6 separate regions of the Homo sapiens genome follow, and regions 1, 2, 3, 5 and 6 are each linked to region 4. Evidence: promoter capture Hi-C in human tissues and cell types (Jung and others, 2019). All regions are on one chromosome and are shown on one strand. The core of a region is centred on a gene start or on the middle of the fragment in contact, and the rest is flanking DNA. Distances in the headings are between cores, read along the strand shown. Region 1 holds the start of DALRD3 (DALR anticodon binding domain containing 3). Region 2 overlaps ZNF589 (zinc finger protein 589). Region 3 overlaps ARIH2 (ariadne RBR E3 ubiquitin protein ligase 2). Region 4 holds the start of NCKIPSD (NCK interacting protein with SH3 domain). Region 5 overlaps P4HTM (prolyl 4-hydroxylase, transmembrane). Region 6 holds the start of FBXW12 (F-box and WD repeat domain containing 12).

Region 1 (4,263 bases), core at 421-2,920, 330 kb before region 4:
TGCACCTTCAGAATGGAAAGCGCTTTGGAATGACACGATCACTCCCGTTGAGTGGGCACCCGAGAAGCCATCGGGAATGTCGTGTCCGCCCAGTGCTCTTTCGGCGCCTCCCAGCAGGGCCTCAGCCCTGGCCCAGAAAGGGGCCTTGCCAAGCTTTTCCTGCCCCTGGGTTTCCCTGCTCTCCGGATTTCCCAACTCTCTCTACTGAGTTAGCTTCTCTATTAAAAGGAATGGGGGTGGGGTGGGGGGTGAGTAAGTTACAGTGAAATGAAGACATTTGGGAACCTTTGTGGGAGAAAGAAAAAGACCTTTCCTATTGGTAGAGGAGCAAGATACTCCAACTGAGGCCTATTTTCTATTATGGTCGCATTATTTGGTTGGCCCGTAAATGGCTGTTGCCTAAAACAGGAAGCTTTAAGGATCGTTGTTAAAGCACACCAGGTTAAAGGAGTCACATTAAAAGCTGGTCATTCTGAGCCGGGCGCGGTGGCTCACGCCTGTAATCCCAGCACTTTGGGAGGCCGAGGCAGGCGGATCACCTGAGGTCGGGAGTTCGAGGCTTGACAAACATGGAGAAACCCCGTCTCTATTAAAAATACAAAAGTAGCCGGGCGTGGTGGCGCGTGCCTGTAATCCCAGCTACTTGGGAGACTGAGGCAGGATAATCACTTGAACCCGGGAGGGGGAGGTTGCGGTGAGCCAAGATCACACCACTGTACTCCAGCCTGGGCAACAGGAGCGAAACTCCGTCTCAAAAAAAAAAAAAAAAAGTCTGGTAATTCTGGAAGCCATCATGATGGTTGTGATTTCTCAGGTATCAAGAGAAGAAAACCGCCAACTGTATCAGAGTGCTTATTTATTGGGCATAAAGACCACCCGGGCTGGGTGCAGTGGCTGATGCCTGTAATCCCAGCACTTTCGGAGGCCGAGGCGGGCAGGTCACGAGGTCAGGAGTTCGAGACCAGCCTGGCCAACATGGCGAAACCCCGTCTCTACTAAAAATACAAAAATTAGCCGGGCGTGGTGGCGGGCGCCCGTAATCCCAGCTACTCGGGAGGCTGAGGAGGAGAATCCTGTGAATCCGGGAGGTGGAGGCTGCAGTGAGCCGAGATCGTGCCACTGCACTCCAGCCTGGGAGACAAGAGCAAGACTCCGTCTCAAACAAACAAAAAAACACCCATATCTCAAACGAGAAAATGCTTGCAAATAACCTGAAACCGCGGAACACTATTCTTTTTAAAACGAGATATTTTAAGTAGGTCGTGAAAGTGGCCTTAATGTTATACTGCCTTATTCCAGTGACGAATATTCATCATGTGTAAAATGGGAGAAATGAAATGTTATTAAAACAAACATGTGAGACTTCGATGAGAAGAGACGGTACCCGGTCTAAGCGCCCACCGGGTCGCGAGGATCCTTTTCCTGGTTAAGGCCTGGGTCACAGCGAAAGAACCCTAGGCCCAGGGAGGGCCCCGAGATTTCAGATCCGGGGCCCGGCTGTGCAGGTGGACCACGCGGAAGGGGCGCTGGGGGCGGTAGGTCGAAAGCAGCCGACAGGGCTACCACTGGCGCACCTGTCCACTTACGGGGACCACCGCCGCATCCCCGCCCCAGCTAGTCGGTCCTTTCCGGAAGTTCCACCTCCCTAAATTTTTTTCCGGTTCCGCTTACTCCTTCCGGTCACCATGGCGACCAGGCGCCTTGGGGTCGGGGAGACGCTGGGGGCCCTCAACGCGGCCCTGGGGCCAGGCGGTCCGGTGTGGATCAAGGAGACGCGCACCCGCCACCTGCGTTCCCGAGACTTTCTGGCACCGCACCGCGCGCTGCAGGCGCGCTTCGATGACGGCCAGGTGGGCGTGAGCCGGGCGGGGCCGTGCGGCCGGGAGATGGGCCCCGTGCCGTGGCTCTTTTACACGCCCGTTCTCCCGCAGGTTCCGGAGCATTTGCTCCATGCCCTCGCCTGCCTGCAGGGCCCCGGTGTGGCCCCGGTGCTGCGCTGCGCGCCGACCCCCGCGGGTCTGTCTCTCCAACTGCAGCGGTCCGCCGTCTTCGAGCGCGTCCTCAGCGCCGTGGCCGCCTATGCCACGCCCGCCTCGCCTGCCTCGCTGGGCCAGCGCGTCTTACTACACTGCCCAGCACTGCGCAGCTCCCCCTGCGCACTCCGCTTGAGCCAGCTGCGTACGGTGCTCGTGGCCGATCACCTGGCGCGAGCCCTGCGCGCTCACGGGTGAGCGGGGCCGCGGGGCCGGAATGGAGAAAGTGGGACTGCCGGGTACCTAGAAAGCGAGCGGCGCCGCCCGTGGGGACTGCGGCTGGAGGTGGGAAGTCGTGGCGAGCTGGACCAGGTGCTCAGACTGAGGCGGCCGCCCTCCCTTCGCAGGGTGTGCGTGCGCCTAGTGCCAGCTGTGCGGGATCCGCACATGCTGACCTTCCTGCAGCAACTGCGGGTGGACTGGCCCGCTGCCTCGGAGAGAGCTTCCTCCCACACCCTGAGGAGCCACGCCCTTGAAGAACTTACCTCTGCTAATGACGGGAGGACACTGTCCCCTGGCATCCTAGGCAGACTGTGTCTGAAGGAGCTGGTGGAAGAACAGGGCCGCACAGCTGGCTATGACCCCAACCTGGACAACTGTCTGGGTAGGACCTGAAGCCTAGCAGGGCCAGAAAAGGCAGGAGGGGGTTAGGGGCACATCTCTGCTTCTTGTCAGTCTCAGCACCTGTCTGTTCTCTTTTCAGTGACTGAGGATCTCCTCTCTGTGCTGGCTGAGCTGCAAGAGGCTCTATGGCATTGGCCCGAGGACAGCCACCCAGGCCTGGTTAGTGACTCCCAGCCCTGTAGGTTCTCCCAAACCAAGTATACTGTACTTCCACAGTTATGATTGTCCTCCCTTAGGCTGGGGCCTCAGATACTGGTACAGGCGGCTGCCTGGTTGTACATGTTGTTAGCTGTGAGGAGGAGTTCCAGCAACAGAAGTTGGACCTGCTTTGGCAGAAGTTGGTTGACAAGGCTCCACTCAGACAGGTAGGTTAATAATGATGGTGGAGCTCCCCACCACCTAACCCCCAACCTCAGAGGGCCCTTGAAAACCCACCGAGGGGCTTGTTAGCTGACAGAAACCAACACTTGACCTTGGGGGAGTTGCTGGACTTGAGAGGGCATGTACAGCAGGTGCAGAGGCTCTGGGGAAGGGGGGTCTGTAGACACATCCCAAGAACACTGAAGACCAGGTTGAGAAGGATGAACCATGCGTAGCCTGAGTGGCTGGGTAGACGGAGGCACTCAACCTGGCAGTTCCAATTTGAGGGAGTCTGGGCTGAGTAGAGGCACCAGATTTGGGCTCCTCAAGGGACTTCCTGGAGAGTAGCGCCAACTAGGCTGAGCCCCTGACATCTTTCTGACAGAAGCACCTCATCTGTGGCCCTGTGAAAGTAGCTGGTGCACCTGGCACTCTGATGACTGCCCCTGAGTACTACGAGTGAGTGAGGCTGGGAGGAACACCAACCTAAGCCAGGGTAATGAGGGGGGACTCTTTACCCAGGACCCTGCCCACTGGCCTTCCTCTCTTCCAAACACAGGTTCCGGCATACCCAGGTGTGCAAGGCCTCAGCACTGAAGCATGGTGGGGATCTGGCACAAGGTGTGCCTGGGAAACCCTGGCTATGTTCTGGGTTAGGGGCAGGTTTTTTGCATCCCTGCCCTTGCCTGCAGACTGACTGACCAACCCTATACTCCCTCAGACCCAGCCTGGACAGAGATCTTTGGTGTTCTCTCTGTGGCCACCATCAAGTTTGAGATGCTGAGCACAGCCCCACAGAGTCAGGTGAGCCTGGGAGCCTGACAGGGCCAGTGTTGGGGCACAGGGTGTGGTGGCTGCCTTCTCTCTCTGCAGCTGTGCTTCTATTCCCCAGCTCTTCCTGGCTCTGGCTGACAGCAGTATCTCCACGAAGGGCACAAAGAGTGGCACCTTTGTCATGTATAATTGTGCCCGTCTTGCCACACTCTTTGAGAGTTACAAGTGTAGTATGGAACAAGGTCTGTACCCCACTTTTCCTCCTGTGAGCAGTCTGGACTTCTCACTGCTACATGATGAGGTGAGTGTCCCTCCTGGTAGCTGGCACAAGGAGGCCTGGACTTCCCCTCCCAGCACCTTTCTCCCCAACAGGGTGAGTGGTTGTTGCTCTTCAACAGTATCCTCCCCTTTCCGGATCTGCTGAGCCGGACAGCAGTGCTGGACTGCACAGCCCCGGGGCTCCACATTGCTG
Region 2 (3,867 bases), core at 625-3,124, 430 kb after region 4:
CTAGTCTTGAACTCCTGGGCTCAAGCAATCCTCTCACTTGAGGAAAACATCAAACAAATCCCAAGTAAGGGACAATCTACAAAATATCTGACTAGCGCCGGGCACGGTGGCTCACGCCTGTAATCCCAGCACTTTGGGAGGCCGAGGTGGGTGGATCACGAGGTCAGGAGATCGAGACCATCCTGGCTAACACGGTGAAACCCCGTCTCTACTAAAAATACAAAAAAAAATTAGCCTAGCGTGGTGGCAGCCGCCTGTAGTCCCAGCTACTCGGGAGGCTGAGACAGGAGAATGGCGTGGACCCGGGAGGCAGAGCTTGCAGCGAGCCGAGATGGTGCCACTGCACTCCAGCCTGGGCGACAGAGCGAGACTCCGTCTCAAAAAAAAAAAAAAAAAAAGAAAAATATGACTAGTACTACCTTGGAGACGTGACAACTAAGTGTAACATGATAACCTGGATGGGATTTTGGGACAGAAAATGGTCATTAAAACTAAAGAAATCTGAATAAAGTTGGACTTTAGTTAATAACCACCATTATTATTGGTTCATTAATACTAACGGTGATGGCCGGGCATGGTGGCCCACACCTGTAGTCCAAGCACTTTGGGAAGCCAAGGCAGGTGGATCACTTGAGGTCAGAAATTTGGGACCAGCCTGGCCAACGTGGCAAAAGCCCATCTACTAAAAATACAAAAAATAGCTATGTGTAGTGGTGCACGCCTGTAATCCCAGCTACTCAGGAGGCTGAGGCAAGAGAATCACTTGAACCTAGGAAGTAGAGGCTGCAGTGAGCTGAGATTGCACCACTGCACTCCAGCCTGGGAAACAGAGGGATCTTCTGTCTCAAAAAATAAAAATAAAAAACGCCCAGATTATTAAGATAAAGATCTACATAAATGAGGAAAAAATTGTCTAAATAAATGGAGAGATACTGCGCTGATGGACCAGAAAACTCAATAATGTTAAGATATTATTCTCATGGCTGGGCGCAGTGGCTCACGCCTGTAATCCCAGCACTCTGGGAGGCGTGTGGATCACGAGGTCAGGAGATTGAGACCATCCTGGATAACATGGTGAAACCCCGTCTCCACTAAAAATATAAAAAATTAGCCGGGCAAGGTGGCAGTGGCCTGTAGTCCCAGCTACTTGGGAGGCTGAGGCAAGAGAATGGCGTGAACCCCAGGGGGCGGAGCCTGCAGTGAGCCGAGATCCTGCCACTGCACTCCAGCCTGGGCGACAGCGAGACTCCGTTTCAAAAAAAAAAAAAAAAAAAAAAAAGATATTATTCTCCCCCAAACTAATATAAAAATTCAAAGCAATTCAATCAAAATCCCATTGTACAAATTGATAAGACTTTCAATTTCAAATTGATAGATTTCAATATTTATATAAAAATGCAAAAGACAGCTGGGCATGGTGGCTCATGCCTGTAATCCCAGCACTTTGGGAGGCCGAGGCGGGTGGATCACAAGGTCAGGAGATCGAGACCATCCTGGCTAACACGGTGAAACCCCATCTCTACTAAAAATACAAAAAATTAGCCGTGCATGGCAGCCTGTGCCTGTAGTTCCAGCTACTAGGGAGGCTGAGGCAGGAGAATCGCTTGAACCCAGGAGGTGGAGGTTGCAGTGAGCCAAGATTATGCCACTGCACTTTAGCCTGGGAGACAGAGCGAGAATCTGTCTCAAAAAAAAAATAATAATAATAATAAAATTTAAGGACTTACACTACCTGATTTTAAGACTCACCATAAAGCTACTACATTAGTGAGGAGCACAATACAAATGTGAGAAGAGTTCAATGGAGCAGAACAGAGCACCGAGAAAACAGACCCACAATTGATTTTTCTTTTTTTTTGAGACAGGGTCTCACTCCATCACCCAGGCTGGAGTGCAGTGGTGTGAACATGGCTCACTGCAGCCTCAACCTCCCAGGCTCAAGAGATCCTCCTACCTCAGCCTCCCACATAGCTGGGACTACAGGTGAGTAACTCCAGCTAATTTTTTTGTACTTTTCGTAAAGATGAGGTTTCGCCACGTTGCCCAGGCTGGTCTCGAACTCCTGGGCTCAAGCGATCCACCTGCCTTGACCTCCCAGAGTGCTAGGATTACAGGTATGAGCCACTGTGCCTGGCCCCACAATTGATTTTTAACAAAAGTATCAAAGGAATTCAATGAAGGAAGGAAAGTCTTTTCAAAAAAACAGTGTTGGAAGAACTGAACGCCCAAATTTAAAAATAAAGAACGCCAATCCCTATCTCATACCACACCAAAAAAAAACTAAAAATCACCGCAACTTAAAGGTGATCTTAAATTAAACAGTTTCTTTTTTTTTTTGAGATGGAGTTTCACTCTGTTGCCCAGGCTGGAGTACATTGGTGCAATCTCAGCTCACTGCAACCTCTGCCTCCCAGGTTCAAGTGATTCTCCTGCCTCAGCCTCCCAAGTAGCTGGGATTACAGGTACGCATCGCCACGCCCAGCTAATTTTTTTTTTTTTTGAGATGGAGTCTTGCTCTGTCACCCAGGCTAGAGTGCAGTGGTGTGATCTCAGCTCACTGCAACCTCCGCCTCCCAGGTTCAAGTGATTCTCCTGTCTCAGCCTCCCGAGTAGCTGGAACTACAGTTGCGTGCTGAGATTTTCCAGCATCACTTCTTTGTATAGGTTCCTCTGCTCAAGGCTCAGTCTCTTCCACTCTGCCTCAATGAAAAGCACAGCCACATCCTCAAAAGTCACTGGTCCCTAAATCAACCGATAAATTCATATTCATCAAGTCACCATTAAGATTCACAGGGAGAATGGAACTGGTGGTCTTGGAGAATCTAGCTACATAAGAAATTGATCTAGGCCGGGCACGGTGGCTCACACCTGCAATCCCAGCACTTTGGGAGGCCGAGGTGGGAGGTTACCTTGAGGTCAGGAACTTGAGACCAGCCTGGCCAACATGGTGAAACCCCGTCTCCACTAAAAACACAAAAATTTCATATTTAAAAAACCATTTTATAGTTTTAACAAACATCATCAAAATTTTAAAACTCTTGCTCATCAAAAGACGTTAAGAAAACGAATAGGCAGGCTCTAGGCTAGAACAAAATATTCACAAAACAAATATAAGACAAAAGACGGGGCAGGTGTGGTGGCTCACGCCTGTAATCCCAGCACTTCGGGAGGCCGAGGAGGGCGGATCACCTGAGGTCAGGAGTTCGAGACCAGCCTGGCCAACACGATGAAACCAAGTCTCTAATAAAAATACAAAAATTAGCCAGGCGTGGTGTCGCATGCTTGTAATCCCAGCTTCTCAGGAGGCTGAAGCAGGAGAATCACTTGAACCCAGGAGACGGAGATTGCAGTGAGCCAAGATCGTATCACTGTACTCCAGCGTGGGCAACAGAGGGAGATTCTGTCTCAAAAAAAAAAAAAGTTGTTCTCAAAGAAGCAGAGAGTAGGCCAAGTGCAATGGATCACACATGTAATCCCAGCACTTTGAGAGTCCAAGAGGGGAGGACTGCTTGAGTCCAGGAGTTTGAGACCAGCCTGGGCAACATAGTGAGACCCGTCTCTATTTAATTAAAAAAAAAAAAAAAAAAAAAGAAAGTAGAGAGTAAAATAGTAGTTACCAGAGGTTGGAGAGGAGAGGGGAGAGGAAAGCAGGAGAGAGATTCGTCAACAGATACAGAACCACATTATACAGGATGAATAAGTTCTGGCATTCTATTGCAAAGTAGGAAGCTTAGAGTTAACAATAATAAATTGTATTTTTTTTTTTTTTGAAATGGAGTCTTGCTCTGTCACCTGGGCTGGAGTGCAGTGGCTCGATCTCGGCTCACTGCAACCTCCACCTCCCAAGCTCAAGTAATTCTCCTGCCT
Region 3 (4,307 bases), core at 389-2,888, 290 kb before region 4:
CAAAGAAAAAGAGAGCGAAAGAATGTGGCCCCACAGAAGAAATATGCCACTACCCATGGCCTATCTTCGTTTGGCACTGCAGAGTCAATGTTGCTGTCTAAGATCCTGGCATGACCACTCTGATTGAGAGGGCTCCTGGGGCCGGGAGCGGTGGCTCACACCTGTAATCCCAGCACTTTGGGAGGTCGAGGCAGGCGGATTGCCTGGGGTCAGAAGTTCGAGACCAGCCTGGCCAACATGGTGAAACCGCATCTATACTAAGAATATAAAAATTATCCAGGTGTGGTGGTGGGCGCCTGTAATAGCAGCTACTGGGGAGGCGGAGTGAGAATCGCTTGAACCCAGGAGGTAGATGTTGCATTGAGCCAAGATCACACCATTGCATTCCAGCCTGAGCGACAAGAGCAGAACTCCATCTTTGGAAAAAAAAAAAAAAAAGTACAGGCTCGGTGGCTCATGCCTATAATCCCAGCACTTTAAGAGGCCAAGGTAGGCGGATCACCTGAGGTCAAGAGTTGGACACCAGCCTGGCTAACATGGTTAGACCCCGTCTCTACTAAAAATATAAAAAAGTAGCCAGGTGTGGTGGTGAGTGCCTGTAATCCCAGCTACTCAGGAGGCTGAAGTGGGAGAACTGCTTAAACCCAGGAGGTGGAGGTTGCAGTCAGCCAAGATCACACCACTGCACTCCAGCCTGGGCGACAGACTGAGACTCTGTCTCAAAAAATAAAGAAAAGAGGGTTCCTGGAAATAGCATTTGCATAGGCCCTTACAAAGCAAAATTCTCGGTCGGGCACAGTGGCTCACTCCTGTAATCCCAGCACTTTGGGAGGCCAAGGTAGGGAGATCACCTGAGGTCAGGAGTTCGAGACCAGCCTCGAACATGGCAAACCCCCATCTCTACTAAAAATACAGAAATTAGCCAGACGTGGTGGAAGATGCCTGTAATCCCAGCTATTTGGAAGGCTGAGGCAGGAGAACTGCTTGAACCCAGGAGATGGAGGTTGCAGTGAGCCAAGACTGCGCCACTGCACTCCAGCCTGGGTGACAGAGTGAGACTCCTTCTCCCAAAAAAAAAAAAAAGAAACTGTCAGGGGCTCCTGTTGAGCATCAAAGCAGCTGCGTAGAAGACCCACTTGGACATATTTTCTACTTGAAGGGATTCTGTTTCTTCAGTTGACCTGGCCGGATGGCATACATGGGTTCTAGCTATGTAAATTATTCCTGATGGATGAAGGAGGTCTGAAAGGCTAAATCAAAACCCCCACTAGAAACTTTGTAAAACGGCAAGGGAAAACCATTATTTTACTACTTCTGGTAAAGGTATCTACAACGTAGCACAGATAAGCCCCAAGCTACTTACCTGCCTTGGCAAAAAAATGAAAGCAACACCCTGAAATCATCTTCTTGGATAACTGAGGATCATGAGGTTTATCCCAAACTTGACTTCTGACTATATGTGTTAGCAAGATAGCAGTGGGATTATAAGAGGGACCAAAAAACAGAAAATAAAAATAAAAAGCTACTTTATGCCAGTTACTGTGACTGTTAAGTGACTGAGGTTCTTCTATGTTTTGTCATTTCATGGCAGAAGTACTCACTTAAATAGTAACGGAGACCCAACCACAAGAAAGTGCCACTGGGCCTTACACACCAAGCTTGGAACTCACCGTGTTTACATTTGGAGCATTGCTGTCAGAGGGAAACAGAAGAAAACACGTTAAGGGCACACTGACCAAAGCTTCCATGTCACACATGCAAACTGCAGAGGCTTCTGCTCACCATGTGATTGCAGCCTCCATTCTTCTCAATGCAGATGTTGCACTTGGGACACTGAGGAGACAGAAGGGTGCCATTAGGCTCACACACCACCAGGTTGGTTTTAAGACAAATTACACAAAGCTCCTGGCACCTGTGCCCAGTTGCTCATGGTGTGAGCACTTCTGGGGAGGAGCACCTCACTTAAATGTGGCAGGTCGCTGAGGCTGGAACAGCAATTCAAGGAAATGAGGTCAGCACATTTAGCTTTGAAATGCTTCAAGCACCAGCTGAACCCCACTAAGTCTTCCACCATCTGCCCCTGCCATGAAGCTACTCAGATTAAGCACAAGTTGAATCAGCAGAAAGCCTGCCTTCTTGAGAGGACTGCCAAAGAAGCACAGGAGCTGCCACAATGGATTCAGTCCTGGTCAGCTTGCCTGAACTTCTGCTTCGAGAAGAGGGCAAGGAAACCACATCTAAAGCTCATCTCTCCCATTTGAGAGATGCCAGCAACCTGAGGCAGCAATGAAGACACCAGTCTGATGCTGTGATCTCCCACTGCCGTGAAGTCGACTATGTTTAATAATGTCGTTATCGTAACTGTGCTTGTGAGTGCACTGACTCGGCGAGTGACTGACAAAGGGTACAGTGGCCCCTAGAGCCCACAGGCCATACTTTCCCATGGGAGACTTCAAAATGAGTATCGTGCAGGTCTGGGCTTGCATTACAGCCTTATATGTATCAAGTGTGGCTATTAACCACCTCCCTTTCAGGGCTGTTAAAGGCTGGTAGGCGTTCAATCATAATTAGTTCTCTTCTAATTAGCTCCCCCTTTGGGTCCCCCTTTCCTGGCATTTTGGCATTTCATCATAATAAAGAAAATATGCACCCAATGCATCCTATAATAAACTGCTACGAGCTGCCAACTCTGTGTGAGGGTCCCCAAACCCCCAGTCCTCAGGAAGGGTCCTGGGGCTCTGGGTATTCTGCTCTCAGATGGCAAATCTCCAAGGCAAGGCCCTGGGCAGCACTAAGGAGGGCAAATCCATGAGAGGTAAAATACGGTCCTTACGTCTTTAGTGTGAGCACTAATGTAGTTGGCTGTTTCAGAGTCGTCTGCACACTTCGTGAGCCATTTCCGGATTGTGGCACAGTCTGTGGGTGCGTGATACATCTGACGACACTTGAAACTTAAAATTGGAAAAGAAAAACATTCAAATATTCATTAAGTCAGGGTCCCATGTTCAAAATTTTCCTTTTATCCAAGCCAACAAATCATGAATTAGAGCTTTTTTCTTTTTTTTTTTTTTTTTGAGACAGAGTCTTGCTCTGTCGCCAGGCTGGAGTGTAGTGGCGTGATCTCGGTTCACTGCAAGCTCTGCCTCCCGGGTTCATGCCATTCTCCTGACTCAACCTCCCGAGTAGTTGGGACTACAGGTGCCCGCCACCATGCCCGGCTAATTTTTTGTATTTTTAGTAGAGACGGGGTTTCACCGTGTTAGCCAGGATGGTCTCGATCTCCTGACCTCGTGATCCACCCACCTCGGCCTCCCAAAGTGCTGGGATTACAGGCGTGAGCCACCGCGCCCAGTCTAATTTTTGTATTTTTAGTAGAGATGGGGTTTCACCATGTTGGCCAGGATAGTCTTGATCTCTTGACCTCGAGATCTGCCCGCCTCAGCCTCCCAAAGTGCTGGGATTACAGGCGTGGGCCACTGTGCCCGGCCTAGAGCTTTTCAAATAGGTAAAGTTATCTCTCAAGGCTTGTGGAACCTTTACCTACCCAGAGTTATACTGAAATACTGCATGAATGTCTCTTCAACTTAAGCCTTTGTAAGACATGCTCTAACACGCACAAATAAAATATTTCTGTAGGCCGAGTGCAGTGATTCATGCTTGTAATCCTAGCACTATGGAAGGTTGAGATGGGAGGACTGCTTGAGCCCAGGAGTTTGAAACCAGCCTGGGCAATATGGTGAGATCCCATCTCTACAAAAAATGAAAAAATTAGCCAGGTGTAGTGCTATGTGTCTGTAGTCCCAGCTACTAGAGAGTCTAAGGCAGGAGGATTTGCCTGAGCTCTGGAGGTCAAGGCTGCAGTGAGCTGTGTTCGCATCACTGTACTGCAACGTGGACAACTGAGAGAGACCCTGTTTTTTAAAAAAAGGATTGCTTTAGACCAGGAGTTTGAGACCAACCAACCTAGGCAACATAGGAAGACCCTGTCTCTACAATTTTTTTTCTGAAATGGAGTTTCGCTCTTGTCACCCAGGCTGGAGTGCAATGGCATGATCTTGGCTCACTGCAGCCTCTGCCTCCCTGGTTCAAGTGATTTTCCTGCCTCAGCCTCCTGACTAGCTGAGATTACAGGCTCCTGCCACTATTCCTGGCTAATTTTTGTATCTTTAGTAGAGACATGATTTCACCATGTTGGCCAGGCTAGTCTTGGAACTCCTGACCTTAGGTGATCCACCCGCCTCAGTCTCCTAAAGTCACAGGGGTCCTAAAGCTGGGGTCACAGGTGTGAGCCACCACACTTGGCCCCT
Region 4 (4,018 bases), core at 127-2,626:
GGCAGGGTCTGGATGTCAGTTTCTAGCAGTTCTACCCCTCACCTGAACCTCACACTAGGCCTATGTACTTTAGGCCTAAAAATAGGCAACTGGGTCAGACAGACACCCATAATCCCAACACTGGGAGGACTGCTTGAGTCCGGGAATTTGAGACTAGCCAGAGCAACATAGCAAGACCTTGTCTCTACTAAAAAAAAAAAAAAAAAAAAAAAAAAAAAAAGCTGAGTGTGGTGGTGCATGCCTGTAGTCCCAGAGACAGTAGGCTTGAGCCTGGAAGATCAAGGCTGCAATGAGCTTGATCATCCCACTGCACTCCAGCCTGGACGACAGAGCAAGACCCTGTCTCAAAAAATAAATACAGATAAAAATAGAAAACTTGCACACACTGGCCTGTACACGCCTCCTGCTTCCTGGGCTCGGGCTTCCTGTGGAGCGTAGCTGGACCATTCTCAGCCACAGTCTCTCCAGGACCCTGAGGGCCTCTTCCCTGGGTCTTCCAGGCACTCTTATTACACGGATTTCATATATCTGGAGATCTGGGCTGACTGGAAAGCTGGGTGGATCAAATAGGCTCTTAAGGCCACCGTGGTACCCCACTCCCTCTTTCAGCCCTCCTCTATGCTCTCAGAAAGGGGCATCGCAAATCTTAAGTCCTATAAAGACAATAAAACACAGCAAGATGATAGCGATTGATGGGGGTGGGAGCTTGACGGACAAATACTATAGGAGAGGGAAGGGAAAATTGTCCCAGGTAGAGGGAACAGAATATGCAAAGGCCCAATATAGAGAAAACCAGCCATAGCTGAAGAGAGAGGAGGAGTAGGGGTGGGGAGCAAAGATGGGAGGGCTTTAGACAGGGAATAGCCCCGCCTGGTTTCTGCTTTTGTGGCCCCCTTCTCCCCACACTTGCTCCCCACTGGCCACCACCGGCACTCGGTGAAGACAGGTGGTGAGGCCTAGACACACCGAGAGCCGGGCCCCGCGGGGGCTTCCAAGTGTCGGATCAGCAAGATCATCCTTTCGAGGTCGCCGTCCTTGCAATTAGTAGATGGGACCCACTGCCCCAGGGCGGTAGGGGCGCACCCGCTACGAGCGGAGCGCGCTTTCACCGGGAGGTAGGACGGGACGCAGCGCTCGGACTTAAGCGGGGAAAGGGAGCAGAGGGCTGGACGGGTGAAACTGAGGCCGGGGTGAGGAGTGAGGGTGCGGTGTCCGGGGATGAGGGGCCTGGAGCCGGGAGGGACCAGAGGAGACAGCGAGCTGTCGACCCCAGCCCCGCCGCACCTCTTGGGGCCGCGCGGGGGCGCTGCTCTCCGATGCGTGGAACGATACAGCCCGGGGCGGGGCTTCGGCGGGCGGGCGCGCGCGCGCCTGCGTAGTGTGTCACGGGGCGGGACAACCGCGGCGCGGCTCGGCGCTCCCGGCCTGGCGTTGTGGCGCCGCAGCCCTTGCCACCTTCCCTGCACCTGCCCTGCCCGGCCTCATGTACCGCGCGCTGTACGCGTTCCGCTCGGCGGAGCCCAACGCGCTGGCGTTCGCCGCGGGCGAGACCTTCCTGGTGCTAGAGCGAAGCAGCGCGCACTGGTGGCTGGCCGCGCGGGCGCGCAGTGGTGAGACGGGCTACGTGCCGCCAGCCTACCTGCGCCGCCTGCAGGTGAGTGCGCCCCTTCCCGCCCGGCCTCCGCGCCCCTGGGGCAGGACCCCTTCACAGCCCCGCGGAACCGACCCAGGGACCCCACCCTCTCCGGGACCCGAGGCCAGGACCTCTATCAGACAGGGAGTTTGAGAACCTGACCCTGAGACCCCCGGACCCACGGGGACTGAGACCCCAAGTGTCAGCATCACCCACAAAAGACCAGGCCCTTGACAGACCAACTCCCGATCGACCAAAAGCCTAACTCTGGGACTGAGACTCCTCAGGACCCCAGACCCTTCAGTATCGAGTCCGCCATCTGAATGGCGACCCTGAGCCCCACCGAATCCTGGCCAATTATTCAAATCCCTGAGACCCCAGATCCTTAATATGCCCCTTCTCTGGATTCCTAGGACCCCACAACCAACCTCCCTCCCTCCCTCCCTCCCTCCCTCCCTCCCTCCCTTCCTTCTTCCCCCAACCCCGCGCCTTGCCCCCCGTTGGAGCCACCACTGAGACCTGGACCACCTTGGACACCACCTGTTTCCCTAGCCATTCTCCAGGTCCTCAACCCCCCAACTTGGACCCTAGAGCCATAGACACCTCCATCCCCTATGTAACACCCAAGCTTTGGTACTTCAGTGTCTTTCACTAGCCTGTGTTCAGCCACCCTCTAAGCTCTTCTTAAGTCTCTACCAACCTTATTTGAACCAAGGACCCATGCCCCTGCTGACACTGTCTGCTCCACTCCCCAACCCTGACTTCTCAAACTTTCTTGCTTTGAAAATGGGTTCCATCCCTACTTGTTCCCAGCCTGGAGTGGGGACTGCTCACATTGTGATGAAGTGAGTTCTTATAGCTTCTCCTGGTCTGATCGTGGCCCCATTTCCTTCCAGTGGAAGCTGCAGTCCCAGTTCCTGTTTCCCTAAGAGTAGCCCTGCTGCGGGGGTTGGGGTGCGTATCTCCAGCTGGTCTATTCTGACCACAGGGGGAAGAAGGGCCCAGAGCTGCCGGGCCTGTGCCAGACACCCCCGCCCCGTCCTAGTCCTTATCCTTTAGGAAACATCCTGTCCCAGCCCAGTTCAGGACAGAAATAACGGGATAAATTTGGAAGTGTCATCTGGTCTTACCAGGAAGGATGGGCCCTGGGGGCCTAGGGGCTTCCTCATAGACCCTTGGCGTGATCCCATCTAGGAGTGCCAGGGGTGGGAGTGGGGGCCGTGGACACCATGGCTGCTGTGTGTCAGACCCAACCTTTTTGGGAATGGGGTCTCATTGAAGGCCTCTGAGGAAAAGTCCTGTCTCTTCCCCTACTGGGCATAGGTCAAGGGCCTGTGAGTCCCCTGCCGCCAGCCAGGACCAGTGGGGCAAGGTGTTTGGGGAGGGCAGAGAGGCTACCATCTTCTCTGTCACTGTCTGTTTCTTTCTGCGTGTCTCTTTCTGTCTGGATTGCTGCGACTCTGTGCCTCTCTGCCTGTGTCGTTCCGACTCCACATGTGTGTGTTTTTGTTTCTTCCTCCGGCTCCCCCCACACTCTGGCTTTGGCTCTGTTTCTTTCTGCGTTGTTTCCCTCTGTCTGCCTCTCCGTTCCTCTCTGAGCTCCTCTCTTTCCCCATTCCTTTCTTTCTCTCTCTCTCTGTGTGTGTGTGTGTGTGTGTGTGTGTGTGTGTGTGTGTGTCTTCATGTCTTTCTATCCCCCTGTCTCCTCTCCCTGCACTCTGGCACACCTCATACCACCTGGAGGGCTTTGCTGACCTCTGTGCCCACCTGTCTGTGCCCATCAGGGAAGCTTCTCAAACCCATGGTGGAATGAGTTCATCTCAGCTCCGGGACTCCTATGTAGCCTGATGGACTACGTGTGCCAGGGCCAGGGGAGGGCTGGGGGTAGCTGGTTTGATAGCTGCTACCCTACACTCCCCATGTCAGATAGGCAGAGTAGACTGGATCCCTGGAATGTTGGGGATGGCAGTACAGAGCCTGGAACAGGGGCTAGGCCCCTCTCTCATGTTTATCCTTTGCCACAAACACAGAACTGCTTCCCAGGGTGGGTTTGGAAGCTTACTGAGACATCTTGTGGGGATGAGGGCCAGCAGCAGGGTTGGGGAGGGCAAGTCCCTTTGACCCATTCTCAGCTCCCAGGGCTTACAGAGGGCCCTTACAAGGACAGGGCTGTTCTGGGGTATGACCTTGGTTTTGTGAAAGATCAGCAAGATGCAGAGTGATGTATTAAGGATTCCAGATACTGGAGACTTCCTGTTTGGCATCTCAACCTGGGCTCTGAGCCAAGACCAGGGATAGACGAGGTATGCGCTCCTGGCTGCAAGCTGGGAGCCCCTGGGCTATGTTTTTGCTTTAGACCTCTGATTTTCAGAAACATCTTAGCCA
Region 5 (4,460 bases), core at 92-2,591, 320 kb before region 4:
AGTCATCCACCATCCATTTCCCAGGCGAGTCTGGGCCAGAACCTAAAGCATAAGAGGGTCCCTCAGTGGGTGACCCCAGTGATGGAGAGCCAGCAGAGAACAGATGGCCCAGTGCTTGTTGTGGAGCAAAGTGTTCAGGTGAGGGCATGGATGAGGACACAGGGCAGAGCCCATTGGGCCAAAGTGAGTGCAGGTAGAAAGGTACAGAGCATCTGAGGAGAAGGCCGGGGGCTGGGGGTCAAGAGGCGTAGGCCATTTGCATTCCCGGACTAAGGCCCCGTGGCCTTCATGGAGAGCACTGTTGGTTGGAAGCAGAGTGAAGGACAGGCCTGTGTCCCACTCAGATACTCCGGGTGAGATGGGGAAAGCCAAGTCCTGGGTGTTAAGGGAGAACAGGCACCAGGGGGAGACCTGGTTAGGGCATGACCACCAGATCCCTCAGAAAGACCAGGCTCAGTGGGGTGTTCTGTGTGGGCAGTGCCCCGCACCACCACCCTGCCAGACTTCTCTCAGAAGCTTGGCCCTCCAGCCTGGCTGTAGAGTGTGTGAGAGTTATGCAGAGAGAGAGGCAGGCTGCTGGCCACCTCAGAGCTGCCACCCCATCCACCATGAGTTCTGTGGGGCCCCCAGCCATGAGAGCAAGGAATGCAGGCTACAGAGGTGCATCCCTCCAAAACTATGGTGATAAATGCCATCACCCCCAGGTGGATTCTCCTGCCATCTTCTGAGGTTCCCAGGGTAGCCAAGAGCTCTCCAGAGGGAAAGGGGACCTCCTGGGTCTGGGCATGCCCAGGCAGGTCTGGGTAGTATCTGACTTTTGGGACCAGGCCTGGGCTGGACAAGTGACCTGGCCACCAGAAAGGTGATTCTGGGCACTCCCACCCTGAGCCTACTCAGGTCCCAGGATTCCAACCTCACGGAGCTGAAGGTGCCCATCACGGTTCTGGTCCAGCAGCCGGAAGAGGTCCAGCTGGCTGACCTGCATAGTGCTCATTGCCTCTTCATACTCTTCAGTAGGCAGGATCTGGCTGCGCTGTAACCCCTTCATCTGCGCCAGATGGATGATGAGCCGACACTCTTCATCAGTCAGGAAGCCGGGGATTTCTGCCAGAAGAGGAGGTGGGTGAGGCCAAGGACTGAGCCAGGGCGCTGGTGCACCCAGTACCTTCCTCCCTTCAGGGTTCCTGGGGTACTGCATGTCCCTCAGTGGCCACCAGGTCTGGAGGATGGAGGATTTTACAGACCCCTTGATTCTGACTTGTCAAGATTGAGTTGTCCTGCAAAGGCTGGCTGGCGTTGGAAATGTGGGACCTCTCTTGATGATGAGAGCACACATTTTCCAGGAGAGCCCTGGGAGGTGAGCCAGAGCTAACCTGGATATGGGCTGACCCATCTTTGGGTTGGGACTGAAGGCTAGAGAGTGATCCTGAAGGGCAGAGGCTTGATTGCTACTTTTTACTGGGTATAAATATTTAAAGTGGGGAGATGGTGGCTGCTTCTTGCTTTCATTTTAACTTTTCAGCATTATTCAAATAAAAACAGCACAAGACATCCAATGTTTCAGGCCAGTCCAAGGGCCTTCCCCTCCAATTTCCTGCAAAGATGGGTGCTGGCCATCTGACCAGGGCTGAGTTGCCCAGTGCTGGAAGATCAGTGAGGGTTACTCAGGTTTTGGGCAGATACTGGTCTCTGAAAAGATGTCCCAGGTGTCCTTTGCTTCCTTGATTCCTTCCCTGGTACAAATGTTCACTTAGTGCCTACTCTATGCCTCTACACCCCTGAGTAAAGATCAGTCAGGCCTGGGGCTTGGCTTCAGTGGCTGGCTGCCTGCACACCAGGCACAGCTGGTAGGTGGCTTGGTGGAGCTAGAACCTGAGCCTCACATCTAGGGAGCCCACATTCTGGTAGCCCCAGACACTTCCAGAGCAGGAGCATGGGCCCTGCTTCCTTCCCTTGTTCCTGGGAGAGCGGTCTTCACTGGAGGACAAGAAGCACGCAGAGGAGCTGACTGGAGGAAGGGCAGCACTGCTACCTGCGGAGTGGCCTGCCGCTTCTCTCAGTTACACTTCCAGCACAAAGTTCCAGTCATTGCCAAGAGGAAGGAAAATGGTCACTCAGCACCAGGGTTGGAGCTTTTTTTATTTTTTTATTTTTTGTAGAGATGGAGTCTCCCTATATTGCCCAGGCTGGTCTCAATTTCCTGGGTTCAAGCTATCCTTCCACCTCGGGCTCAAAAGTGCTGGGATTATAAGCATATGCCACCACACCTGGCCTGGAGTGGTTTTTAATAGTAATTACAGCAGAAAATACTTAGGTAGCACAGACTCTGCCCAAGGCACTGTCCTAAGCACTTCATACACATCAACTCCTTAATCCTTATACTTACCCTAGGAGGCCAGGCCCCATTAATTCAACCTTCCTATCTAAGAGGAAACCCAAGCACAGAGAAATCAGTGCCTTGCCACTGGCCACCCAGCCTGCTGTGTTCCAGAAACCATGCTCATGACCAGATTCAGCTACTAGGAGCAGGTGACCCTGATGTGATAACACTGAGGATAGGACAAAGGCCCCCACTCTTGGCCTGCATGATCCCGTGACCCCAGCAAACCCAGAAAGGGTGTGATCCAAGGGGAGACAGCCCTGTGGAACAATGGATTAGATCAAATTGCAAATCAACAGAGTCACCTCTTGATTGCTTAACACACAAAATTTAAAAAGAAAGAAAAAGGAAGCCAGAAAAAGAAAAGAAAACACAGGCCCAGGTTTCTTCAGTTTATTAGGTGCCAGTAATCTGCAAGCCCAGTGGAGGTGCCTCCAGCCTCTACAGTCCCCTGCTGTGTGCTAATCAAAAACAAACAGCCCAGTCAGCATGTTGGGGCCTCACCAGGTGGGTCCGGGCACCTCGGAGCTGTGCAAACCCCTGCAGGATCTCCTCTGTTGGCTCCCTGGGTGCAGGAACAGCCCTATAAAACCCTCAACCTCAGTTCATTAAGGCCAAGGCACAGAAGGCAGTGATGGAGCAGGGGCTGTGGCTGCTGGTGACACTGGTGATGCTGTGGGATGACAGCAGGGTCAGGGGCTCCCTGGGGCTGCATGAGGTGCATGCCCATTCCCCAAGCCATGGCCCTATGCCACGACATTGGCTACACAGATGCGTCTGCCCAACTTGCTGGACCACATCACAGCAGCTGAGGCCATCCAGCAGTTGGTCAGCTGGCTGCTCCTGCTTGCCTGGGAGTGCCACCCCGATGCCCGCCTCTTCCTCTGCTATTTACCCCTGTATGCCTTGACAGGTAGGACAGGGGCTTCCAGGTGCAGGGCCCTGGAGGGCTCCCTCAGGGCCCTGCTCTGGTGGCTCAGGTCTTCAGTAATCCTTGCTGAGCACCTGAGCACCTATCAGGGCTGGGCGCTGACAGGCACAGAGAGGAAAATGGATCGTTTTGTTAGAGTGTTCCAGACAGAGGGAACCAGGTGCCCTTAGGCAGGAGACCATCAATGGTGGTCAAGGGCTCTTGAATGTCAAGATAGGGCAGGTGGACAAGTCGCTTCAGGCTGGGGGTTGGGGGCAGGCGGGCTGGAACCTCCTCTCCAATGAGGCGTGGAAGCTATGTCTGTCCAAAGAGACCCTGGCAAGAGATGGAGCAGAGGCCCTTCTGGTGGCCTTTTCTCCCAGAGAGTCCAGAGATCCCAAGGCTGTTTCCTCTTCCCCAGCCTAACCTATCCTGTGAACAATGGTTTCTCCCAAGAGCCTCTGGGTGGCCATGTCAGCAGAACTCAGGATCAAGCCCTTGAACTGTTTGCCAACCCCAGCCCTGGCTGCGGTGCCCCGAAGGCCTTTCAGGACAAGAGGGAGGGCCCTGTTTCCTCACTTTAAGATGGAGAGTAAAGGCCCAAGGTGCAGGCCACCTCTTGCAGACAATGGATGTCCACAGAGCCGGAGGGAGAGGTGCACTGGAAAGCTGGCAAGGCACCTGAGTGGGAGGGCGGGAGTGAAGAGGCAGAGCTGAGGGCTGAGATGTGGGGCAAGTGGGAAAGCCAGGCTACGGGGCTGTTGCTAGGCGACCAGTGTCGTTGCCCAGCAACCAGAGAGTTCCAGGCCACGAGACAGGGGTAGGAACATGGAGAGGTTCCAGCTGATCTGGGTGCTCAGCCTGTGGCGGTGCAGCCCCCGACCCTTTCCCCCAAAGGGTCATCTACCCCTCCTACAGCCTGTGCGAGGCCATGCAGGCCAGCTGCGAGCCCATCATGGCCTGCTACAGCTACCCCTGGCCAGCCATCCTGCATTGTGGACGCTTCCCCTTGGGCCATGATCTCTGTATCACTGCTGTGGCCAACAACGGCTCCCGCCTGGACCGCCCATGTGAGTCTGCACATGGCTGGTCTCCACCTTGCTCGGCCCCACCCCTTTCAAATCATTCAAATCATACAGGGATCAGGTAAACTGTACTCAATGTCACCTA
Region 6 (4,076 bases), core at 1-2,500, 310 kb after region 4:
TACTCACACTAACTTTCCTGTGTATATCTCACAACACAGCCACACAGGCCTTGGGACACAGCATGGGTGCGCAGTCAGATGATCTCCTCTCCCCTTCCCTCCTTGCCCTTTCCCTTCCCTTACCTCCACAGGTAATCACTGTCTGCAATCCTATTCCAATGCTATGGGAGAGAAAGGAAGAGACAAGCAGGCAATCAGTTACATCAGAGAGCAAGGGTAATCCTCTGCTATTATTTGTTCTGGGAGCTGGGCCCGCACAGGTTAATCAGATGGGATTCCAGCTCTCAAAGCACTCTCAGTGTGGGGAGATAAGGAAATGGTAACAACAGAGACCTATCACTGCTAATACAGGCACTGGGTATTCCCATGAATTCACAGGAAGAAGTGTTGATTTCCTAGGGCTTGAAATGGGAGCCTCAAGGACTGTTTAGTCAGCACAACTCCTGGATATCAGCTTGTCCTTTTCGTTTAACAGAATATGAGGCCCTCAGTATGAAGAATGCTAACCCCCAAAGCCTCAGTGTAACCCTCTGCTATTCTGCAAAGTGGTGCTCAAACTGGTCGAGAGAAGCAGCGGGCTTGGGGGGCAGTGGGAGGTGGAAGGCCTTTACCTTGTTCACCTGGGAAACCTGCAGCAAGCCGAACAGGTCCAGGAAAGAGAAGATTCGCTTCAAAGCTAAGTCAGGCAATCGGATCTCCATTTCATGCGGCCTGAACCCACATCCACTTTCCTTTCTCCTCTCCGGGCTGCTCTGAATTTATAGGCTTTGCCAAAGTCTGCAGCACTTGTAAAGATTTTCACCCATGCCCATCTGTGTGCGGTAGAAACAAGCTGCAGGTGTGCAGACTCCCGGGCTGACCTCCACCCCGGCCTCTCCCCTGGGGCCTGATCCACACAGCTGGCAGGCATCCCTACCTAAACCCACTTGTTAGTGCTGTTCATTGTTTAGAGGAGCTCAGCAACACCTGTGCGCTGTGAGCTGGAGGTGCAGAACCTGGGGCAGCCCCAGTTGCAGATGAAGTTGTCAGAACCCTTTAGGAAATGTCACCGAGTGCACTCACTTTGATCAGATCTGAGTGTCTCTATGACTCTATTTAAGTTCCAAACTCCTGGAATTGGAGTCTGCTTGCCCTGTGTCTGTGCCTACCTTGGGATCTTGAATCTGGTGAGTGGGGCTCATCTCTCAGCGCCAGCATGGCCTCTGGGTTTCTACCTTCTCGCATTTAACTTTGCAGTGGAGGAGAAAGAACGTGCCAAGCTGGCTTCTCCACAGAGGTCCGCCCAAAGGGAGCAGGCCTTGTCTGGGATGGCTCTCCCAGCTGGTGGCTTTCCCTGGGATGTGACGCTTTCCCACAGTTACAGATCTCCCAAGAACCTGACAACTCATTCTGGGATTTTCTAAAGACCGTGTCATAGCCTGGGTGTTTGTGTCCTCTCAAAATTCCTACGTTGAAATTCTAACCCTTGGTGTGATTGGAGGTGGGGGGCCTTTGGGAGGTAAGTGGGTCACAGGCAGAGTCCTTATGATGGGACCAGTGACCTTATAAAAGAGACCCCAGAACGCTCTCTAGCCCTGTTCATATCATGCGAGGACATGAGAAGGTGTCAGCTGCAACCTGGAAGAAGGCCCACACCAGAACCTGACCGTGCTGACAGGTGACTCTTGGACTTCTCTCCTCCAAAATTGTGAGAAATAAATTTGTTTGTAAGCCACCCAGTCTATGGTACTTTGCTGCAGCATAAGACAGGGGTCCCTCTGTGAGGCTCAGTGGCCAACCCTTCTTAAAACTGCTGCCTCCAGGCAGACACACGGGAGTGGTTGTCGGGAGTCCCATTTATGATACAGTAGTAAGAGAGAGGAAAAATACAAATTGACATGGTGAGGAAATAAAAAGGAAAAGCAAAGACCAAGAAGCACCTAGAGGGGCGTGGGGAAAGGCGAGTCAAGGGGTGTGTGGAGAGGAGTGAGAAAAATACAAGGGTAAAAGATTTGTATTCCATAAATAGGAAATAATGCAGAGAGAGCCAGAGCCGTGGAAGGACACAGGAAGACAGAAAGCTTGGAACGGACTCTATTGTAGAGGAACAGAATTAATGCAAAGATATAGAAGGCTGAGAAATAAAACACTTTAAAATATGACAAGGGAAGAGAAGAAACAGTAAAATAAAGGATATTTTAAAAGTATTAAAGCACAAATATTATAAAATACACAGATAGGAAATATAACTGTAAGTGGACTGAGACAGAGTAGGAATAAAATGGAAAAGAGGACAGATGAGAAAGAGGCAAACATAAGGAAACTGAAGCAAATTGCCGAATGAGTGAATGAATGAATTTGAAATAGAGGAACAGAGGCCAGGCACAGTGGCTCATGCCCGTAATCCCAGCACTTGGGGAGGCCGAGGCGGGTGGATCACCAGGTCAGGAGTTTGAGACCAGCTTGGCCAACATAGTGAAACCCTGTCTCTACTAAAAATACAACAAATTAGCTGGGCGTGGTGGCGGGTGCCTGTAATCCCAGCTACTTGGGAGGCTGAGGCAGGAGAATTGCTTGAAGCTGGGAGGTGGAGGTTGCAGTGAGCTGAGATTGCGCTACTGCACTCCAGCCTGGGCGACAGTGCGAGACTCCATCTCAACAACAACAACAAAAAAAATAGAGGAACAGGAAGGTGTGTTGGGGGGTGGTGGTGGCGGGGTGCTACCAGAAAAGCGGCAGAGAAAGACACATTGCAACAATAGATGAAGACAAATCTAAATGTCACAAGAGTTAAGAGATGTAAAATTTGAGAGATGTGAAATGGTAACTGCGTAATAGTCTAAGCAAAAGATAAGATGCAGGTGAGAGAATGGTCCGGACATTGTCTAGGAGAAAGTAGATTAAAGCAGGCAGCTGGGGAAACCTGAGAAGAGGGATCCATAAGGAGTTGGGCAGCCTGAGAGTAGGACAGAGAGGGAGGGACGACACAGCATGGGAAGTAAAGGGGGCGTAGCAAGGGGAGAAGTAACAGCACACCTTTCATGGCGCCTTCTGCAGGCAAGGCACCCGTCTAAACAATTTACAGGGGCTCATCTATTTAATCCTCACAACGGCTAGATGAGGTAAGTCCTATTACTGGCCACCTTGCCAGGGTGCTCCGTGTTCTCTTAGATTCTGAATTTGTCTGGCATCCATCACAGGGCCAGTTGTATTCTCTGTATATTTTTAATTTTCTGTATTCTTGATGCTCTGGCATTTGTGATCTTGCTGACTGGGGAGAGACTCTCCTTCCCAGGCCTAGCCAGATAGCAAAGGAGAGTGCCTTTTATGCAAACGAACCAAGCTACAGCCCACACCCACAATCATCTCCTTTACCAAACTCTCACACAGCAAGTTAATATTCCTCCTGCCCTAAATCAACCCAGGGCCAGGTACCAGACAACTGGAGACGGCCCCTATGCCTCAAAGCCAGCCAGAACCATTTAAACTAGCCCATTCTAAAAGGCTTACCCTGTTCTGCCCTCTTCGTTTCTTACAGAAAACACAATAAAGGCTCAGGCCTATGCTGCCCCGCCCCTTCTGCCTCCTGACTGCCCTTGGTGCTCTCCATGTGGCCCTGCGTGGGGAGCCAGGCCTCTTGTTTATAGGGATCTGTGAGTATAAACTTCTTCCTTCATGACAATCATTGCTGTGTCTGCACGCTTTGCCACACCTGATTAAAACCAATCCCAGGCACCAGTTTTAGAACACATAGGTGGGAGCCAACACATACAGAGGTTAGGTGACTTGCCCACAGTGACACCCCTGGGAAATGGCACCGGGTTTGAACCCCAGCAGTCAGCCCCAGAGCCAGTGCTCTTAGCTGTTATGCTCTAATGGCTCAAAGAGAAGAGGGAATTGGGAAAACTTGGAATGATTAGGAGAAGAATGAAAGTGGATATATTTTTAGCCTTGAGTTTAAAATGCTAAACAACTGAATAAAACATGGTCCTGTAGTCCCAGCCACTCAGGAGGCTGAAGCATGAGAATTGCTTGAGCCCAGGAGGTGGAGGCTGCACTCCAGCCTGGCAACAGAATAAGACCCTGTCTCAAAAAAA

The links. Contacts are between HindIII fragments. The study calls those that stand out against the background at their distance.
Region 1: the fragment with the promoter of DALRD3 here is called in contact with the fragment with the promoter of NCKIPSD in region 4 in 1 of the 25 tissues and cell types used here (dorsolateral prefrontal cortex).
Region 2: a contact is called between a fragment that was not itself captured here and the fragment with the promoter of NCKIPSD in region 4, in 1 of the 25 tissues and cell types used here (thymus).
Region 3: a fragment that was not itself captured here is called in contact with the fragment with the promoter of NCKIPSD in region 4 in 1 of the 25 tissues and cell types used here (H1 embryonic stem cells).
Region 5: a fragment that was not itself captured here is called in contact with the fragment with the promoter of NCKIPSD in region 4 in 3 of the 25 tissues and cell types used here (bladder, dorsolateral prefrontal cortex and mesendoderm cells).
Region 6: a contact is called between the fragment with the promoter of FBXW12 here and the fragment with the promoter of NCKIPSD in region 4, in 1 of the 25 tissues and cell types used here (spleen).

Annotation. Positions count from the first base shown.
Region 1 is chr3:49,015,987-49,020,249 of GRCh38, reverse strand. It overlaps DALRD3 (DALR anticodon binding domain containing 3), which reads left to right and starts at 1,670. Exons shown (of 12, transcript NM_001009996.3): 1 at 1,670-1,850; 2 at 1,932-2,227; 3 at 2,381-2,637; 4 at 2,737-2,816; 5 at 2,894-3,022; 6 at 3,403-3,476; 7 at 3,577-3,638; 8 at 3,739-3,821; 9 at 3,910-4,092; 10 at 4,164-4,263. The coding sequence starts at 1,686. MIR425 (microRNA 425) reads left to right here and starts at 16; the gene lies at 16-102. RefSeq lists a silencer at 2,440-2,674 and enhancers at 2,123-2,894, 3,180-3,249. The HindIII fragment of the contact is 18,150 bases long and covers 1-4,166 here.
Region 2 is chr3:48,250,030-48,253,896 of GRCh38, reverse strand. The region is part of intron 2 of ZNF589 (zinc finger protein 589); the gene reads right to left. Among named protein-coding and RNA genes, the nearest start is that of ZNF589, 11 kb to the right of the region's middle. The HindIII fragment of the contact is 4,886 bases long and covers 1-3,867 here.
Region 3 is chr3:48,972,343-48,976,649 of GRCh38, reverse strand. ARIH2 (ariadne RBR E3 ubiquitin protein ligase 2) reads right to left here. Exons shown (of 16, transcript NM_006321.4): 9 at 2,834-2,951; 10 at 1,783-1,833; 11 at 1,671-1,692. Among named protein-coding and RNA genes, the nearest start is that of P4HTM, 16 kb to the left of the region's middle. The HindIII fragment of the contact is 5,340 bases long and covers 1-4,307 here.
Region 4 is chr3:48,683,273-48,687,290 of GRCh38, reverse strand. NCKIPSD (NCK interacting protein with SH3 domain) reads left to right here and starts at 1,376. Exons shown (of 13, transcript NM_016453.4): 1 at 1,376-1,654. The coding sequence starts at 1,484. RefSeq lists enhancers at 869-938, 533-1,264 and silencers at 1,461-1,755, 1,149-1,868. The HindIII fragment of the contact is 9,717 bases long and covers 1-2,842 here.
Region 5 is chr3:48,998,082-49,002,541 of GRCh38, reverse strand. P4HTM (prolyl 4-hydroxylase, transmembrane) reads right to left here. Exons shown (of 9, transcript NM_177939.3): 3 at 914-1,104; 4 at 1-42. LOC124906235 (a long non-coding RNA gene) reads right to left here. Exons shown (of 2, transcript XR_007095904.1): 1 at 3,870-4,460; 2 at 2,759-3,626. Among named protein-coding and RNA genes, the nearest start is that of WDR6, 7.1 kb to the left of the region's middle. The HindIII fragment of the contact is 8,927 bases long and covers 1-4,460 here.
Region 6 is chr3:48,369,393-48,373,468 of GRCh38, reverse strand. It overlaps FBXW12 (F-box and WD repeat domain containing 12), which reads right to left and starts at 1,250. Exons shown (of 11, transcript NM_207102.2): 1 at 1,149-1,250; 2 at 612-785; 3 at 124-161. The coding sequence starts at 701. The HindIII fragment of the contact is 16,322 bases long and covers 1-4,076 here.